Regions from separate parts of the Homo sapiens genome. Here all the other regions are linked to region 1. Evidence: promoter capture Hi-C in 16 types of primary human blood cells and fetal thymus (Javierre and others, 2016). All regions are on one chromosome and are shown on one strand. Each heading gives the region's core, a stretch centred on a gene start or on the middle of the fragment in contact. The rest is flanking DNA. Distances are from core to core; before and after follow the strand shown. Region 1 holds the start of LRCH2 (leucine rich repeats and calponin homology domain containing 2). Region 2 overlaps PLS3 (plastin 3). Region 3 holds the start of PLS3 (plastin 3).

The links. Contacts are between HindIII fragments. The CHiCAGO score rates a contact against its expected background, and 5 or more counts as called.
Region 2: a contact is called between a fragment that was not itself captured here and the fragment with the promoter of LRCH2 in region 1, in 3 of 17 cell types (fetal thymus, megakaryocytes and erythroblasts). The highest score is 5.7, in fetal thymus.
Region 3: a contact is called between the fragment with the promoter of PLS3 here and the fragment with the promoter of LRCH2 in region 1, in 2 of 17 cell types (endothelial precursors and fetal thymus). The highest score is 7.1, in endothelial precursors.

The regions. Positions count from the first base shown.
Region 1 is chrX:115,231,760-115,236,496 of GRCh38, forward strand. LRCH2 (leucine rich repeats and calponin homology domain containing 2) reads right to left here and starts at 2,337. Exons shown (of 21, transcript NM_020871.4): 1 at 1,934-2,337. The coding sequence starts at 2,282. The HindIII fragment of the contact is 1,961 bases long and covers 758-2,718 here.
Region 2 is chrX:115,626,174-115,630,910 of GRCh38, forward strand. It overlaps PLS3 (plastin 3), which reads left to right. Exons shown (of 16, transcript NM_005032.7): 4 at 3,025-3,154; 5 at 3,662-3,794. Among named protein-coding and RNA genes, the nearest start is that of PLS3-AS1, 66 kb to the left of the region's middle. The HindIII fragment of the contact is 2,026 bases long and covers 1,673-3,698 here.
Region 3 is chrX:115,558,365-115,563,101 of GRCh38, forward strand. It overlaps PLS3 (plastin 3), which reads left to right and starts at 2,810. Exons shown (of 16, transcript NM_005032.7): 1 at 2,810-2,896. PLS3-AS1 (PLS3 antisense RNA 1) reads right to left here and starts at 4,367. Exons shown (of 3, transcript NR_110384.1): 1 at 4,262-4,367; 2 at 4,040-4,166. RefSeq lists an enhancer at 3,584-4,359. The HindIII fragment of the contact is 4,189 bases long and covers 986-4,737 here.

The DNA.
Region 1 (4,737 bases), core at 1,087-3,586:
AGGGGATATATAATAAGAAGACTGAACAAGTATATGGCTTACACCCTGCCTTTTAAGGGGCTCTATTTCTTCTCAGGGATAGCAAGACAGAAACATAAAAAGAAAATAAAACCAGCACTGCCAAGTAAGTGGTAAAGACAATAAGTACCATGGGAATTCAAAGAAACAGGAGATTCTTGTGGACTAAGGGAGTTGGAGACAATTTCTTGGAAGAGCTGGGGCTTCAATAAAATTAAATAGACGGAGAAAAGAGGGAAATCCCAAGCATACAGATGATCTTGTACAAAGATGAGGCAGAAATGCACAAAATGTATTTGAGAGACAGAGAGTTGACCTAGTTGGAAGAGAGGATTCTATGTGGGAGCATTTTGGGGAATAAGGTTGCAACAATAAAGTGGAGCCCAACAATGAAAGTCCTGAATGCCAAGCTAGGATGCTTAAACTTTGTCCTGCAGGTAGAAGGATCCTTTATAGGTTAGAAAGAACAATAAGAAAAAAAAAAAAAAGAGGAAGAAGAAGAAAAGAAAAAAATCACTATAATGATGCAGTCTGAAACTGTTTTACTTGAAGCCTTTGAAGAACACACCAAGTTGCATAATATCTTGCTAACAGTCATGAATATGTGAACATATTATTTAGGAAATCTGTTCTGAGTGAAGGAGTAAATACTCCAACATGCTTTACAAAATATAAAATCAGTGGTCGATTACACATTCATAGTTCTTAGGATCATTGCTAAAAGAATCACTGGGTGGAAAGCTTCAATTTTAGGTTTTCCTCCTCTCCCCACTTTGTTCCAACACAAATACCTTGATTTAAGATCTAAAAACTGAATACATCTGAAATTGTCTTGTTTTGAAAATAAGTGGTATTTTACTACTCCTCATTATGGGTGAATTTACTTACTATATTGTTTCAAAATGACGACATCTATTAAAATAATTTTGTCCAGATTTATTTCAGCAAAGCAGATGAAAACAGAAATAAATAACAAATTTAAAGATTATAAAAAGTAAAAAAAAACCTTTCATCAAATCAAGACATATCTAAAATAATCCAGCATTGGTTTATAAGAGAGTGTGTCCCTAACAAAAAATGCCAGCCACAACAAAGACTACCAGAGAGTATATGAAGAACATTACAATAGCCAATTTCTCACCCAAAGTGATAAACCTTTAATCCACAACTCCATAAAGAATGGAGATAATTTTTTCTCAAAAATACCCTTAAAATTGTTGGCTTTCTACTATAAAAATTAAGACTCTAAGATAACTCAAAACAAGGATTAGCTTTCTTCTAGTAAGCAGACATGTAAGTGATTGATGATTTAATTTACCACTGCAGCAAATACTAATTTAACCACCACTACCTTCTCAACACCAGGAAAATGAAAAATCTCAGTCTTTAAAGGCATACGTGACAAGAAAGAAGCCAAGAATATCGTAGGATGATTAAACCACACAGAAAAACCATGGCAATCCTGCTGCTGTACTCTGAAAAAGGATATGCCATTCTTTCAGGCACGTATGCCTTTAAGGAATATGTAGAGATTATGATTTTTGTGTTTCGTTTAGTTTGGTTGGGTTTGGTTTTCCGGGAAAGACGGGAAGATCCAGGAGAGTTGAAAGAAGTGCATTAAGGAAGGTGTCAATGACTCCCTCCCACCCAAACTGGGGAAACTTGCTTTAACAATGATGCTCTTTCACCCCTAACATCCTACCAGTTTCTATACATCCTTCAGGCAGCATTCCTCCCCTCCCCTATTGCTTGATTCGCCCCTCACGTTCAGGAGAACGGGCTGCCCCGACTTTGTTAGTCTGGCGGTCCCCGCGCACCCGCCCAGACCCGCAGAGTCCAACAACGCAGCCACGCAGCCACCCACTCCCCGCACCTCCTCCTTCACAGCCAGCTTCCCCTCCCCCCGTCCTGTCACCTGCTTGGGTGGTGTCCGTCAGGTCGTAGCCGCTGCCCGGGAAGTCTCGGAGTTTCCGACCACTGAGGCTCAGGATGCCGGAGCTGCCCGCCTCTTCCAGGGCCCGGTCCAGGCTCCTCACGGTGTGCTGAGGCTGCAGGCTCCCCGGGTTCCACGGCGGCCCGTTGGGGAACGGCTGACCGAAAAGAGTCGGTACCGGGATGGGGACCACCAGGGTCCCGCCGCCGCCGCCGCCTCCCCCTCCAGCCCCGCCACCTCCCCCTCCAGCCGTGCCACAGCCACCGCTACTTCCACCTCCACCACAACCGCCGCCCCCACTGTTACCGCCTCCTCCCTGACTCGCCGCCATGTTCCTGGGAGAGAGAATAGCCCCCGACAATACTGTCAGCCTGTGCCGCGAGTGTAAGGGGTTCTTAGGACGCATGCGCAGACTGGGGGCGGGGGGTGGGGGGCGAGGTAGAGAGTGGGAAGGAACCAGGGGGCGGGCTGGGAGGAGGTGTTGGATAGAGAAAAGATGATGTTTGAAAGTGCAGAACGCTTGCTTTAAGAAATGTATGATAAGAAGGATGCTAAATCCCGGTTCTGCTGCTTTGGGTACCAAAGTCTTGCGAAACGACACCAGGCGAACTATAGGTCATCTGGGCTGTATGTCCCCAACTCTCTAAGTTGCTTCACTGTTTCCGTTCTGCAAAACAGAAACAAATATATGAGCTAGGGATGAAAGGGATTCGTTTCAGAATATACAGAAACAGCACTTAGAAGGGCTATGGGGCAGCTTATTGAGAAGCTTACTGCAAATGCCTCAGGAATCCTTTACCAGTGTTAGAGAAACGCTGGGGAGTCACTTGGGGAGGGAAATGAGTGCAGTGTTGAGTTTGGGGCATATATGAATTTCTCCATAGTTTAGAATTCTATAATAGGAAAAGATTTGTAAAATGTTTTCAAGGAAGCCTCTCGTTTCAATGTATGTAAGTCTCAGCCAGACTGTTGCCTTCCAAAACTTGGAAGAGTTATCCACATTCTGTTCTATCACTCTTTGAAGTTGTGCCAAGATCTCCAAAATACCTCTAGTTTCTTCTCATCGTGTCAGTACTGCCTGATGAAAATCTCTTTGATCATCAAACAATCTTAAGTTATTTCTGAAATACAGGTTTTGTTTTTAGATGGAATTCTGAAGATTTAACCCTGGGTATTATGAAGCCAATCGATCTTGAATTTTAGGAGTTCATTCTCAGAACCTGAAGATATTTTTAATGTAGAAGACATAGAGAAGAAAGTTCAAAGTCCTTTATCTGGCATTCCAGGCCTCCATAATTTAACCCCAGACTATCTAGCCGAGTTTATCACCCAACCATTTAGGCCACTGCCATCCCTTTACCCACTACCCTCTCCACTCTCAATCATAGTCATTCAAATCTTTTTCTCTAGTATTCAGTAAAGTTGATGAAGAAAACTATCAGAATGCTTGGACATATTCACTTATCATTGAGTATCCTATGTATCTCTTTTACACCTATTTCAATTTGAGCAATGTGTCAACAGCCTCATTTTTTAAGAGAAATCTCCACTTCAAAAAAGTATATCTGCCATAGGCTCTACTTTATAAAAGATTACAGGAAAGAATTACAACTTGTCTAAATTGATTTGTGGCTATACTGGTTAACTAAAATGATTATGTCATGAGAAATTACATTCACCATATGCATGACCCAGAAGGAAGAAAACAGAGAATCAGACTCTGTATAGTGAATTAGCAAGTGAGATAAATTATTAAAACACACCGGTGTCAAAAAGGCATGTTGCACCTTATATCTCATCTTCCTTATATCTTAAATCAAATTATTAATTCATAATTCATAATTAATTGAGAACTTCAGAATTAAGATGAATGAGAAAGGACACTAAGTTCATTAGAGAAAAGATTAGGAAAGAAAATATTTTAATAATTAGCCAATGAGAATTTTTGCAATTATTTAAAACAATGTATTGGACTCCAGGAAAAATATGTCCTATCAGGATACCTGTCCAGTGAAAAAAGGCATGTACAGCCAAATTTAAGAAGGAAAATAATTTTTCAAAAAGTTGAAAGATAATCTAAGAAAATGGGACGCTTATTAAGTAAGCTATGTATACCTTAAAATCAGACAAAATAACATGTTGTAGAGCTCTTTGACAAGAACACCAAGGCCAAAAGATTTAGAAGAGAGGGCATAAAGTTTAGAAATTTATTCTGAACTTTTAACTCCCTGTGTAATACTTGGGAAAGTGGCTTAAAAGCTCAGTACTTCAGTGTCTTCATATGTAACAATGGAAAATAATAATAATAATAATATTTTTAAAGTGCTTGCTACTTGCCAGGGAGTGCTTTGTATATACTTACTTGTCTATCGATCCTCATAACAACCTTGTAAAGTAGGTACTATTATTCTTCCATTTTATAGATGAGGGAAAATAGTACATACCTACTATATGATTGTTGTAGGAATAAATAAAGTCATACATGTAAAGTGGCAGGCACATACCTGACATTCATTTATTCATTTAATAAGCATTTAAGGAGCAATTACTCTGTGCCAGAAACTCTCCATGCCAGTAATACTATAGCATTGGGCACTCAATAAGTGTTAATCTCTTTACTACACCTCTACTCCTTCAAAAACTAAAATAATAAAGAACATTCAAAATGTAGGACGCCAAGGAAAAAATTAGTAAATGTCCTGATAACTGTGGGTAAAGACATTATCTGACATATTGCATGAATTTTTTGATTCAGTCTATACTAGAGGATATTTTACATTGATTAC
Region 2 (4,737 bases), core at 1,436-3,935, 390 kb after region 1:
TTTATCATCCACTTAAGCGATTTCTTTACTAAAGTAGAAAGTAAAATGCAAATTCTTGTGTAGTGAATCAATATCATAGACACAAATCTTCAGTTCTTTCTTATCATTTTTACTTTTTTTTTTTTTTTGAGACGGAGTTTCACTCTTGTTGCCTAGGCTAGAGTGCAGTGGCGTGATCTCGGCTCACTGCAACCTCTGCCTCCTGGGTTCAAGGGATTCTCCTGCCTCAGTCTCCAGAGTAGCTGGGATTACAGGCATGCGCCACCACGACCGGCTAATTTTGTGTTTTTAGTAGAGACAGAGTTTCTCCATGTTGGTCAGGCTGGTCTCGAACTCCCGACCTCAAACCATCCGCCCACCTTGGCCTCCCAAAGTGCTGGGATTACAGGTGTGAGCCACCATACCTGGCCCATTTTTACTTTTTTAAAACCAAGGGAATAGAGGAAAATACTATGAAACTAAAAGTTTAAGCTTAGCTGGAATAATTTATTTGAAACAATTTAGAAAATGAAGGTCATGTAACTTTTGCAAGACCTTTGAAAATTAACAAACTTAATTACAACTTTGCATTTCATTGCCAAGCATAAGAAGGAGTTTTACTAAAGCTATGTAAATAATTGCATTAGGATATATAGCAGAGACATTCTATATATATGTATATATATGTTTAATTTATTTTCCTTTTTTTTTTTCTGAGACAGGATCTTGCTCTGTTGCCCAGGCTGAAGTGCAGTGGCCCATCTTGGCTCACTGCAACCTCCATCTCCCGGGTTCAAGTGATTCTCATGCCTCAGCCTCCCAAGTAGCTGGGGTTACAGGCATGCACCACCACGCCCACCTAATTTTTGTATTTTTAGTAGAGACTGGGTTTCATCAAGTTGGCCAGGCTGGTCTTGAACTCCTCCTGACCTCAAGTGATCCACCCACTTTGGCCTCCCAAAGTGCTGGGATTACAGATGTGAGCCACCGTGCCCAGCCTACTTTTCTAGTTCTAGTTATTAGTTCGAATTCCCAGACGTTCTCTTTTTTAAATATGAATTAATCCTTTTTTCTGTGACATAAACAAATTTGGATTTATTTTTTAGCTGAAATCATGATCATTGAAACAACCTAAGTTTTAGAAGTAAATGATTCTTGAAGCAGAAGCACTCGTAATAAGAAAAATAACTTTACATATCTCATTCTGAAGCTGTAACACTTTTGTCATTGCAGGGACTTGTGGTATGTTAGGCATGAAGAAATGCACACCTTTCAGATTTTAACTTATTAGACAATGAAGTAGAGTTCAGAAAGAAGTAGACTAGTGACTATTGTCTTTTCACAGAGCAGCTGCGTTGTTATCAAAAGGAGAGCTATAGGATCAAAATGCATCACAGTTAAGGCACAGTTGGACTAAAAAATCAGATTGTAAATAAAAATATTTTAATCATTTGAAAACTGCCTGAAGTGTGTGCGTAAGCTCCATACTGTTGATACTTAGTGAAAGTCAGTATAATGGCCATAGAGCAGGAAGGGTGATTTCATTGGTTGTGTTTAGTATTTAGAGTAGTGTGTATGTGTGTGTCTGCATACATATACAAACATAGACACACACAGACATTTATTCTAAAATTCCACCTCCAAAATTACTGGTAAAGCTAGCACAGAATCACAGGTATGGAAATACTGAGTAAGCTTGATTTTGTAAAATTTAAGTGCTTACTAACTATTCTCTCAAACAAAATTTTATTTGTAAGTCCAAAGAAAGTTAGGATTTAATTTAAGAAAGGTAACAGGAAAAAATGACTAAGTAATAGGGCCACTGACAACACATACAGCAACTTTTCTACCAGTTACTAAAAGTCACTTTCTCTAGATGGATTAATTACAAAAAGGTACCCTCCTGGAAAGACAAAATACAACAAGGCACTCCTTTCGGTCTGACACAGTCCTGTGCGAGACACAAGGCTTGGTTAGTATAGCTTGGGCTGGATTTCTGCTTCTGCTCGTGCCTGCTCTGACACATACAACCTGAACTGTTATGTATATTGTAACCCTGTTCTATGAACCGCAGACATAGGCTGCATCTTCCTGAGATGTGTGTGTGAATACATATCTGTCACGAATGTTAAAGGTCTTTGAATTGCATTTGTTCAGCAACTTTTCCATTAAGTCTTAAGTTTTCTTTCAATGAATCCACTTAAATGGAATTCTAAACGCCATTTAAAGAAAGTTGTATACGGTTTCTACATCTTGCTCCTGTTTTACTGGCTTTGACTAATTTAGCCACGCACATTGGTGGATCAGGAACACATTTGGAATTAGGTACATTCCAATACCTCAGAAAAATATAGACAGATAGAATGTCCAATCAGATAGCTACACAGTACTAGGATGTGAAACTTACTGTGTTATAACTTGCTTTTGTACAATTAGAATGTTCCTTACTGTGAAGAGAAGCTGGACTTCATAAATGCCCCAATAAGACAATCACTGAAAAGCCTCTTTTTGGTGTTTATTCTTGATAGTCATCTATTACTACCAGCTTAACACATTTTTTAACTGCATTATTCTGTAACTTTTGATTTAATGAATTCTTAATGAGCTACCCCATTATACTGTAAAATAGTTTTTTGGTTAAATCATAAAATTTTATCTTTCTTTGCATTAAGAATTTTTATTAAAGTAGGGGGATTCTTCAATGTTTTCTCTCCAGGAAAAGAATAAAGCCTTCCTTGTTTGTAGAAAATTAACAGATTTACCTGTGCCTTTGAACCACATTAGTTTTTGGCTTAAAGTGAGTTCAATGCATGTAGCGCTTAATGTTTTTGACAAGTGTGTGCAATTGACATTCTGGTGCTTCATTTTCAGAAGGGGTATTGTAGTACTTGTTTAGCATTTCAAAAACTCAAGCCCAGTTTTTTGTATCTTTTAACATCAGCTATGGAAAAAATGTAAGTGATCAAGATATAAAAGAATATAAATATGCTTATTGTGCATAGTTTGAAATTAATTGTGAATCAACAAAATTACTTTAATTAATAGATTTTTCAAGAGGTAAAAAGTAGTGATATTGCCAAGACCTTCCGCAAAGCAATCAACAGGAAAGAAGGTATTTGTGCTCTGGGTGGAACTTCAGAGTTGTCCAGCGAAGGAACACAGCATTCTTACTCAGGTAATCATTTTATATGCAATAGGTTAACACAATGTGCTAAGTGGGATGGTTGCTGTAATGTCAAGGACGGGCTCTAGAAAAACATTACCTTCTAATTAAGAATACAGTAGAAGTCCTTTGTGACATGTATTTAGGCTTGAGACTAATACTTGTCATAAAGGCATTATAAGTGTTTATTGTATGGCTTTGTTAGCTTGCAAGAGACAGGATACAATCCATGTAATGACAGGCTTTATTACAGTGCATTATACAGTAATATAAATATAATTTTTAAGGAATTTTGTAACTTTTCTGAGGACTGGTTAACGTGTTCTATTCTTTTTCTTAATTTTGTAATTCCTAATAACCACTGTGTTGCATCCAAGTGTCTGGGTTTCCACACAGAATAACCACATGTTTCTGACACATTAACTTTCAGCACTACTGCACAACTATTTTAGGCTTTGGAGTCAAATATTTAATAAGTTAGAGTATGAACTAATGTCTTGTTATTTAACATAATTTTAGAGGAAGAAAAATATGCTTTTGTTAACTGGATAAACAAAGCTTTGGAAAATGATCCTGATTGTAGACATGTTATACCAATGAACCCTAACACCGATGACCTGTTCAAAGCTGTTGGTGATGGAATTGTGCTTTGGTAAGATGTTAGCTTGTTTTATATCCAGATATCCAAAAATAGCCTTCCATATAATTGATATATTTGTTTCTGCATGCTTGACAGGTTCACCTCAAGAAATAACTAGAATGGAAAATTATCCAGGTTCTGCCTTTTTCATTTAATCTCTAGGTCTGTCCATGAATCTAAAATTCAGCCATAAATCGACAACCTCTTTATAGGGAAGCTCTCAGCCTCCATTTTCTTCTCAACACCAGGCCAGCAGAACATTACAACTTTGTTGAACTTAAGTATGTCAGTGTCTCTTTATTCTAAAGTACCACAGCTTCCAAAAGAAAAAAAGAGGCTACTCTTCAGTTCTCACTCTCCAATGACCTATTTCTAAAAAATGCTTTTGTCACTGCTGCTGCCCCACAGCCAACAGCATCTTGGCAGACATAACACAACATTATCAACACTGCCAGTCGATGTTCCAATTTATAGAGGCAGTGTCACACAGTGGTTAATAGCATGCTCCATAATCAGTCTGCCTGACTTCTTTCTATTCAGTCCTGCCACTCTGAAGCGGTACAACTGTGATCATAATACTCAACCCCTTTGCATTTCAGTTTCCATCTGTTATGATCTCCACATTATTATACTTATCTCACAGGGCTTTTGTGAGCATTAAGTAAATTACTACATACAAAGTGCTTAGGGTAGTGCAACTGACATATTTCAGATAACTATATATATATAAAATATATACATATATATGTATATATATACATATATAAAATATATGTGTGTATATATATTTACACATATATATTTTATACACATATATACAAAATATATATGTATATATACAAAATATATATGTATAATATATATAATACATGTATATATGTATATATATGTATAATATATGTATATTATACATGTATATATGTATATATATGTATAATATATGTATATTATACAT
Region 3 (4,737 bases), core at 1,560-4,059, 330 kb after region 1:
TATGATATCAGCGGAGGACAGGAAGAATAAATGGTTTTCAAAATTTTGTGATATTGACTTTAAGTGATTTATTACAAAGGCATTAGGATCGAAAATTGGAAATGGAAGGAAAGGTAAAAACTCTTAGGTTACTGATTCACAAGGTCTGTGAGAATCCTATATATATTAATAGCTTTTTGTTGCTGTTGTTTAACAAGAATAGACATAAAATAACCATTGGTTCAGCAAACATTTACTGAACTCCTATGTGTCAGGCACTATGCAAGTCACTGTCAAAATAAATTAAAGCCTATAAGCAGGTGGAGGGAACCCTGACAAACATCTGTGCAGGCTTTTTGATACAGATAAGAAAACAATCAACTTTGGGTTACTTCGTGAATGATCCTCTATGAGGTAAATTGATGGCATGAAAAATTATAAAGAAATGCTGTTTAAGAGCTTTGAGCCTGAGGATCCTTTCTTCCAGCAAAATGCTAAATTTGAAAAGATCCTTTAGATTCTGGGCAACACAAAGGTAGCTTAGTTACATCAAACTGGCTGGGTATCTTAATAGTATTCATTAAAATGGAGTTCTACCTGGATTATATAGTGGAGCTTGTTAAACAGGAATCTCAGCTAGCATCCAAATAGGTGCTTCTGTGTTTAGGGTGTGTTTTATCTGTTGGAAAGTTACTGAGGCAATGAGAACTAATGCCATCAGCTAGGTACACTGCAGCTTTGAAACTATGGACTATTGCATTTCAATTAAAATGACATTTCTTGACTGAATTCTGACATCCTCAGTGATAGTGGTGAATGAAGACTTTTATCAAAGTATAGATTCTATTAAGCTTTTAAAAAATTTTATTAATTTTTTTTGTAGAGATGAGGTCTTGCTATGTTGTCCAGGCTGGTCTTGAACTCCTGGCCTCATGCAATCCTCCCACTGCACAGCCTCCCAAAGTGCTGGATTACAGGCGTGAGCTACCCTACTCGGACCAATGTAAGCTTTTTTGAATTAAAAACAGGAACTGTAAATAGCATATACGTAGGATTCTTAATATTTTTACTTTAAATTCTAGAATTTGAAAAATAAACTAAAATTGAATACAACGTAATTGAGACAAATATATCTGCACTGGAAAATTTAGCTTACAGAGTCCCTTCATGCTATTGCTCAGTCTGTAATTTTAAGTTTAAGAGCAGGTGGAAGCTCTTCAGCGGTGACCGACAGACACCATAAAAGGTAGAAAACTGAAAAAGCCTATTTCCTGTATCTAAAAATTTTTTGTAAAGAATTCCAGAAGTCACACCAAACCTTTGGCCAATTACTGAATGCTAGAAATCTCATTTGGGAGCTTACTGTAAATGTGTGTGGCAATGCACTGGCTCCATGTTCAATCCAACGCCAACATGTTGAAATCAGTATTTTTGTGCTGGCCCAAACCTGAACCAGTAGAAAATCTCCCATAACAGAAATTCAATGTTTGTGAAAGCATGATTGCCCTCCCATTTCTTTTTCACCTTCCTGTGCCTTTCATAAGTTCTTCCAGTTGGTTAATCATTAATTAATATTTAACAAGGCTTTTTCCTCGTGCCAAGTCCTCTGCTAGTCTAGCCTTTAGGCAATATATGAACTCCCCAAGTTCTTCCCTTTTAAGAAGCCTTGGCACTCACTACGGATTAATTTCTCTAAGGAAATTCATAATGGCAGATGAAATAGGGGTTCCTTTTCAAGAACATTCCATTTTAAAGCCTCTCAGCATTTTTTCCTGGTACATGTAAAATGCGACTTAATTGAACTAATTTTAAATGTTGACAGAACTTTCCAAGCACACATTTCCTCAACAAAATGGTTACGACTGGAACAGGAAAGGGCTTAGACTTTTTCTTCTACAGCTATCCCACAAGTCAGTCTCTTGACCTGACCCTGCAAAATCCCTCAAACTCTGGCTCTCTGAGTTGATTTTGGATATACGATGAACCATAGGTTTGGAATGCAGATAACCTCCACGTGTATTAATGAAAGAGGTCAGCTATGACGTGGAAGCCATCTCCTGGGCAGAGAAGGAGAAGAAATGGCAGTCTGGGGAGTAGTAACATGTCTCCAAATTTTCTCTGGTGAAAGGAGACTGATGAGAATTGATACCCATTTCCGGTCAAAAGAGTGGAACCAATGTACTTCCAACCACCTCCTCTCAACCCCTCTCCGCATGGACAAACATACCAGACAGGTGATGTGGGCTAACAATTTACTTGGCATGAGGCCAAAGGCTTGAGGGCCCTGCCCTGCCCATATTCTTCTCCCTTGACTTCTTAAGGAAAGGAATGATTGCTGATGTTTCCCTCTGCACCCTTTGGCACCTGGACTGATTGTTGCAGATGTAATTAGGAATGTTCCCCAACATGCCGTTATTCTTCTCACGATTCTGGGAGAAACTGTACCCCTCCCCCATAGACTTATATAGGTGGCATTCAAATTCTTGTTCCCAACTTTTTCATCTTTTTATTAATCCCACAAGATTGTGTGAATGTGTACTCCGAGCCAGGCACGTTGGACTTCTAACTTCCTCTTAGCCCAAGTAGGAAGGGGAGACTCAGGCGCTGGGGACCATTCTCCTCTCCCTGCAGCAGAGTTGCAGTCCCTATCCCTCCTGGGTGCCCATCCCCGTGCCTATTTTCCTGGATCCCCACCCAGTTGATGTGACAGGCTCGTGGCCCAATCCCCTTCCTGGTTCCCAGGCCGACTGCTAGCACCACCCGAGCCAATGGCGGCGGCCGAGGGGCGGAGGGGGCTGGCAGGAGGGGAGGGAGCGCTGGCTTTAGAGCCACAGCTGCAAAGATTCCGAGGTGCAGAAGTTGTCTGAGTGGGTTGGTCGGCGGCAGTCGGGCCAGACCCAGGACTCTGCGACTTTACGTAAGTGCTTTGTAGGCGCCGGCGGGCACTAGGGGAGCGGGTTTCCTGGGCGTGGGCAGGAGTGGGTCCCGGGGAGAGCATCTCGGTTAAGCTCAGCAGGAACGTGCGGCGCACCGTGGGGCGGGGGTTGGGGGAGAGGGAGGTCGGAGAAATTTCAGTTGGAGCCCTCGGGCGCCCGGGCGATCGGTCGCAACCGAAATGGGTGTGAGTGACGGGGAGTTTCCCTACTAGCATCCGCCGCAGACACGTTTTCTGCACTTCACTGTATTAAGTGGTGTTTTCTTACTAGTTGCTCTTAACTTGTTGCCAGTCTTGGGCTGGAGTCCTAGACGCCAGCCCTTGCCCTGATTCCCCTCCGCGGCTGCGGCCCCGAAGTGGAAAGGGAGCGCACAACTTCCCTCTGTCGTCCTTCTCCAGCTACTGCCATCCCCTCTTCCCTCCCGCCCGGACTCAGGAAATCCCGGAGCCAGCAGCCTGCTACTCCTCCAGCCCCCACACGCCCGCCTCGGGTGACCTGGCTGGCTTAAGCCGACCCTGGGGCTCTGGAGAGGGGGGGCCGTGGCCGAGGGAAGGCACGAGGTTTGGGTTGCCTGCCTTCTGCCTGCTTCCCTCCCTTGTCCTTAGCGAGGGCGTCGCGAACGCACCTAGTCTCCCTATGAGTAAGCACTTTTTTTCCTTTCAGTAGGAGAACATCTCTGGGCTAGTAGGACAGTACCTTTCCGTTCTCCCCTGGCCCCACACCCCCTGTCCTTTTTTCAGCTCCTTTGACTTTGCGGCCCCGGGCGCGCGGTCGGGGCGGCGGCAGTCCCGGACCTCTCCCGACTCTTGGAGAGGGAGAGGCAAAGGGGCGACGGGAGGGAGGTAATAGTCTACCCCCCCGCCCTTTCCCCGCACAGCTGCACTTGCCTGTGTTTACTTTTCTCCACCCGCAGTACTTAAGCGCTGTAATGAGAGGCCCGGGGACGCCGACCACCCCCGCCCTGGCTTCTCGCCAGTCCCAAAGTTGCTGCCGCCGTCGCTGCTCCAGTGTGCTGGCGGTTCCGACCGCCGGGCTCCGGGACGTAAGATGATCCCAGCCCGGGAGGTGGAGTGGGGGTTAATGGCATCTGACTCTAGCCTTATGCGATGCTCCTTGCCTCTCACCTGAGCTGCACGATATCCCCAGTGGTGCAGAAGGTTGAACTTTTGCAGAAGGTTGAGCTTGGAGCTAAGTGGGTTGGAGAGCCTCGCCATTTAGCGTCAGACAGACGGGATGCTGGGGGCGCCCGGCCTGTTAAGAGGGATTGGGAGGAGGGAAGGGAGCCTGGCTAACAGTAGGTAGAAAATGTAGGGAAAAGTAAAAACCATTGAGGGGCAAGCACTTACTCCACTTTGCTGGATGTCACAATGGACTGGGGAGCCTAAACTTGATCCTCGAGATGCAGTTCATGGTGAATTCCAACTAAGTGGCTGGAGCCCCACACATACCAGTTGGAATCACGTGCCCCAAGTCTCTGATGGTCACATGACGTCTTTTTACTTTAAAGCTGGAATGTAATGGTTGAGGCCCATATTCCAAAAACCACCTCTACGTTTGAAAAAAAAAAAGGTGGGGAGGAGTGTGAACTAGCTTCTAATCAAGGAAGTCTACTAGGATTTTGGATGAGGGGACCAGAAAGGGAATTTGGTGCTCAGCTTTTATCCAAAACAAAAACAGGAGCTGTTTTTAAAATAAGGGATTGAAATATATGTGAGCTGGGACATGTATCTCCTCTCTTCTTCAATCTCATGGTTTTTCTAAATTTAAAAAACATCTTACTAATTATTTTCTAGGGAAGTCATCCTATTACTCATGCCTCATT